Linked DNA regions of Homo sapiens: region 2 is linked to region 1. Evidence: promoter capture Hi-C in 16 types of primary human blood cells and fetal thymus (Javierre and others, 2016). All regions are on one chromosome and are shown on one strand. The core of a region is centred on a gene start or on the middle of the fragment in contact, and the rest is flanking DNA. Distances in the headings are between cores, read along the strand shown. Region 1 holds the start of TEX35 (testis expressed 35). Region 2 overlaps FAM20B (FAM20B glycosaminoglycan xylosylkinase).

Region 1 (2,700 bases), core at 129-2,628:
CCTTTTGTCCCTTGAACAGCCAGGCTCATTCCCACCTTGGGCCTCAGTGCATGCTGCCTCCTCTGCCTAGAAGGCTCTTACTCTGCCTTTGCAAAGCCAGAGTCTTGTCCTTCAGCTCTCAGCTCAAAGGAAGGCCTTTCCCTACCACCCACTCCACGGCAGCCACTCAGACATGTCTCCCTGTCTTGATTCCCAGCAGAGCAGGTAACACTGCTGAATGAGTCCTTGTTCGTTTATGTATCTGATTGGTTACAGTGTGAAGTTCTATGAGAGCAAGAACTCTCAGTGCATCCCCCAGCACCTGGGACAAATCTTGGCCACTAGGATCAGCAAATGACCCCTGACTCCTGGTCACTTCCCCATGGATCTCAGGCCTGGCTGCCTGCATGGCCTCAAAAGGGCTTCTTACTTTGGTCGGCTCTGGCTTCAATTCCAGGCAAACTGCCTTGTAGTTCTTGCTCTGCAAAAAGAGGAGACTGAGATTCAGGCTGGCAGACATCAGGATTGGGGAGGAGAACATCTGGCCCTTGCACGGGAACCCTGCCCCCTGCCCCCCACAACCATGCAACCCTGCCTGTCCAACTGGCTTGAGCTCAGGCTCACAGACCCCGCAGCACCCGGATCCGATTCCTAACAAATCACATCTTGTCGTGCTGTCCTCTTCCTATGGGCGTGTGTCTGCCTATTTGGCAGGCAGCCCTCTCCCTGCTGGAGGCGCCAGCGTGGAGAAAGCACTTTAAGATAACTAGAAGCAAGCCCCGGAAGTGTTGTTTCCAGAGCAAGGGCTTTGGCCATAGGCAGATTTGCACTATAGTCTCAGCTGACCTCTCTACTATCTCTGTTATTTTGGGTGAGTTGCTTAGCCTCTCTGAGCCCCCATTTCCTCATCTATAAAATCGACGTGATGATTATATTTATCTAATAAGGTTATTCTGAGCCTTAGCCCTGCTGGTTAGATGTGGGCCTGGCAGGCCTGGCATGGGCCGTGGAACCATGAGTGGTCTTGGAGTAGGGAGTGCTCCCTTGGCAGTGCTCCTCATCCCCAGAGGGAGGCAGCAGAGGCCTCTTTCCTTCCCACCCCCAAGGCTAGGGATTAATCCCACACCCCTTCCAGACTGAGAGGCTGCTTTATGCTCAGTACAGAGAAAGAAAAACCAGAGATTCATGCGAGCATTCTCTGTATCCCTTGCCCCGACACCATCTCCATTCAGTAGGAGCTCAGAGAGGACCCACACTGTCCAGCAATGTCTCTCTTTTACCAGATGTGTTTTCTTCAATTCTGCCCTCTTGGCCGACATGATGGAGGAGGCCAGGGTGTTCTTCAACTCCCCACAACAGCCCCTGGGACCAGGCCACTGTCCTAGGCAACTTACAGGTCAAGGTGAGGGCAGGGTGACCACCCCTTTGTGTACGGAACAGCTGAGGTCACAATGCCAGGACCCACATGGTGGTCCAGAGCGTCACCACAGCTTCAGGCCTGGGGGGCTTCGGCCACTGAGATGAGGGGTTCAGGCCAGGTTTCAGAGTCCCACCAGGCCTCCCTCTTGCAACAGAAGGAAAGTCCACACTGAGGAGGATCATGGCCTGCTACGGTCGAAGTGCAAGGCACGCGTCAGAAGCAGTGGCTCCTTCTGCAGCAGGACTCACCTACTGACTCAGAAGGACGTCCTCCAGGGACAGCCAGCTCCTCCTCTGAGCGCACAGCCCATGTCCTCTGCTGTGCGCTCCTCGCGCGAACCGACCCCACCTCGGACCGGAAGCCACCTTGGGCTGGAGGATGCCATGAAGTCTCTCTGGTTCAACGTGCATGCACCGTCTCACTTAACCTGGGTTACTCTGTATGAGGTGGGGTAGCCAGTCTCAGCAGGATGGTTTCTGATGCCTCTGACCTCACACTGCCCCTGTCCCACAACCACCCCCAGACCCCTGCCCACCTAAAAATTCTCTTTTCCTAGTTCTTCTATCATCCGGGAAGAGGGTTGGGACAAGAAGCTAAAGATAAGAAGCTTTTCGGGCAAATGAAGAATACTAAAGAAAAGGCCATTCTGCGGGTAGCCATAGTTTGTGCTAAAGTAGACAGTCAGAGGAACATGGCACCCCATGGGATAAAAAATCACTGGGGATCTGGGTTGGTGAAATTGATTTCTCTTTTCCTCTTATCACTGGTCATTCACTTCCTTCTTCCCTCTCATTTCAACTGCTAGTTGCACAGAAAAGGCCAACATGGACATCTGAGGACAGACAGCACAGGAGTACAGGAACTAATGCAAATTGCATGTGAATGACATCCCCATGCAGGCCACTACTGACCACACTTACCCTCCCATTTCACACACCTGCTTGGGACTATCCTTCCTGGAGGCCACTGGAACTTCTGGAGCCACCTGCAGCACTTCTGATGCATTTCCTAGGTGGTGATTTCCCAGCCCTGACACTGGTGACAGCTGTGGGTCTTACTCCACCATAGCCAGAGGAGAATGTGTCTGCCACTGCATCAGCGGAAGGAGAGGGAGTTGGGGGTGGTCACCAGCTTCCCAGGCTTCACTTTCCCCACTTATAAATGAGGGGCTGGAACTTTTCAGTTTCCTTGGACCTTTTAATTCAGCCCTCTCAGATCTGATGGCCTCGTGGTAGGAATGCCCTTCCTCTAAGGGAATTACAGTGAAAATGACTGACTCCATCTCAACATCCACCAGCCCC
Region 2 (2,784 bases), core at 168-2,667, 540 kb before region 1:
AACTCTCTCTTTGCTGGTGGGAATGCAAAATGGTACAGCCACTTTGGAAGACAATTTGGCAGTTTCTTACTAAATGTACTCTTACTATATGATCCAGAAATCACACTCCTTGGTATTTACCCAAAAGAGCTGAAAACTTATGTCAATACAAAAAGCTATACACAGATGTTTATGGCAGCTTTATTCACAACTGCCCAAACATGGAAGCAACCAAGATGCCATTCAATAGGTAAATGGATAAACTGTGGTACATCAGACAATGGAACATTAGTCAGCAATAACAAGAAATGATAAATCAAGCCATGCATGAAAAGACATGGAGGAATCTTAAATGTGTATTATTAAGTGAAAGAAACCACTCTGAAAAAGCTATATACTGTGATTCAACTATGTAACATTCTGGAAAAGGCAAAATTATGCAGACAGTAAAAAGATCAGTAGTTGCAAGGGGATTGGAGAGAGGGGTGGAGAATGATGAATAGGTGGAACATAGAGGATTTTTAGATCAGTGAAAATACTCTGTGTGATACTATAATGATGTATACATGTCATTATATATTTGTCCAAACCCACAGAATGTGCAACACCAAGAGTGAATGGGAATGTAAACTATGGAGTCTGGGTGATTATGATGTGTCAGTGTGGACTCATCAATTGTAACAACTGTACCACTGTGATGTGAGATGTTGATAATGGGGGAAACTATGCATGTGACGGGCAGCGGTTATTTGGGAAATCTCTGTACCTTCCTCTCAGTTTTGCTGTGAACCTAAAGCTGCTCTAAAAACAATAAAGTCTAAAAACACAACAATAACAACAAGGTTATGCTAAGGTCAGACGATTATTAAGAACTTTACCTCCAGCCAAATCCCTCTACCTATTACTTTCCAGTCTTTATGCCCTTGTTCTCATTAATATTCCCATTATTTTGCCAATGCCCTTTCCTCTTTGCTGCCTTGGTAACTCATACTGGTTCTTCAATACTCAGTTCAAGTGTTAATAACCTCCTCTACAAATCCTCTGCTTTTCCCTTACCCACACTTCATACAATGTGTGAGTTGACCATCTGTGAGCCTTTGAAGAGCAGGTACCCTGGCTTCTTCTTCTTGGACTCTTTCCCTCAATCCCAGCACCCACCAGGAATTCATGCTTGCTAAACATAAAACTGAACAACCAAAGGTGATTAGAAAATATCTGAAACAAATATCTGATACAATATCTAACATTGTATGCTTTTGGTTATCTATAAGAAAAGTATAGCCCAAGCCTTATAAGTTGAAATTCTGAATGATGAATCTGTCATAAGTCCTTTAAATATTCAGTTTTTCCTCATTTTAAATGTAAATCCACTCACTCTAGCAAAAAAAAGCAAGGTGAAGTTCATCTTGCAATGTCTGTTTCAACAGTCATGCCCTAATGCAGAGCACTGTATCACTGAAAAAGAGTCAAGGTGAAGAGGTGGAAACAAGAAACCACCGCACTTTTGAATTCTTCCCATTCTCATCTTGCTCACAACAACAGGAGTGAGAATTTTAGCTCAGATCTCTTACCTCAGAGTTAAGATAATGGAAAACAGAGGCCAGGGGCAACATAGCCAGTTCCAGGCACAATGAGTTATAGGTTAACCCTTGCAGAAGGAGTAGGCCTGTTGATCTTCCAGGTCCAAATACAACCTTACAAAATAATTTCTGAGCCTCCTAAAGAGTTGCCTTAAGATTTCCTCAATTCTAAGGAGATGGGAGACAGTTCCTGAGGAAACATATTATATATGTAAAAACAACTGAGCCAATGATATACAAACAATAACCAATTTAGGCCAAATTCTGAGTTTGAGACTTACTAATAGCTCTAAGAGAAAGCAGAAGGAAATAATCACCTGCTTTCACCATCACTAAATGACCTCACTCCCTATGTCACAGACAACACAAAGTATACAGGAAAATTTCAATTTCCTGCCATCTCCTTTAGATTCATTTTCCCAAATAACCTGAGAGCTGGTTGTCTGATTTGCTTTTGTATTCCACTGAGTTCTTCAATTCCTAAAAGTCATGAGCCAGCTTGCTCAACAATGCCCCATTTTAACTTATTAATCATTCCCCTATATAAATGTCCTCTACAATCTTCTTACCTACAGTTAGGAAGGTGCTCAACAGCTGCTCTGTGGCGACAGGTTTGATCTCTGTCCGAAGATTAACAAATCTGCCAACTACCAAGGGGGCTCGGTGGAAACCCAGAATCCTGGTTTGGAAGATTGAAGAACAGAAGAGAAAAATCTTAGGGGATGTTTTTTAAGTAACAGTCTTAAAAATTACAGTTCATCATGTCAAATGTGTAAAGGGTTTTTAGCTAGTAGCTAAACCTAATTTTTTAGAGGTACATATATTTAGGAATTTAATGTGAAGGTGTGTATAATTTATTTTAATATACATTTCAGCAAAAAGAATAAGACAAATCTGATAAAATGTGAACACTTTTTAAATCTACAGAGTGGGTATATGGGCTCATTATACTATTCTTTCTACTTTTGTATGATAGAAATTTTTTCATAATAAAAATTAAAAATAGATTTTAGGAAAGTATTAGAAAAAAAATGGGACCCAAACTCATATATGGGTTCAAATCTTTAAATAAAACAGCATGTTGGTTAAAAAAAAAAAAGCAGACTGATCTAAAAGGCTAAGCCCACAGAGCAAATTAAATATAGAGACATTTGAAGATATCTCTAATAATCTAAAAGGTTGAAAACAATGATTTATTTTAAAAAAATGAAATTTCCTGGCTAAA

The links. Contacts are between HindIII fragments. The CHiCAGO score rates a contact against its expected background, and 5 or more counts as called.
Region 2: a fragment that was not itself captured here is called in contact with the fragment with the promoter of TEX35 in region 1 in 1 of 17 cell types (total B cells); the score reaches 5.3 in total B cells.

The regions. Positions count from the first base shown.
Region 1 is chr1:178,511,787-178,514,486 of GRCh38, reverse strand. It overlaps TEX35 (testis expressed 35), which reads right to left and starts at 1,378. Exons shown (of 9, transcript NM_032126.5): 1 at 1,260-1,378; 2 at 410-460. The coding sequence starts at 1,298. LOC101928866 (a long non-coding RNA gene) reads left to right here and starts at 1,437. Exons shown (of 6, transcript XR_001738307.2): 1 at 1,437-1,845; 2 at 2,205-2,411. The HindIII fragment of the contact is 3,272 bases long and covers 1-2,008 here.
Region 2 is chr1:179,053,983-179,056,766 of GRCh38, reverse strand. FAM20B (FAM20B glycosaminoglycan xylosylkinase) reads right to left here. Exons shown (of 8, transcript NM_014864.4): 4 at 2,129-2,238. Among named protein-coding and RNA genes, the nearest start is that of TOR3A, 27 kb to the left of the region's middle. The HindIII fragment of the contact is 5,323 bases long and covers 1-2,784 here.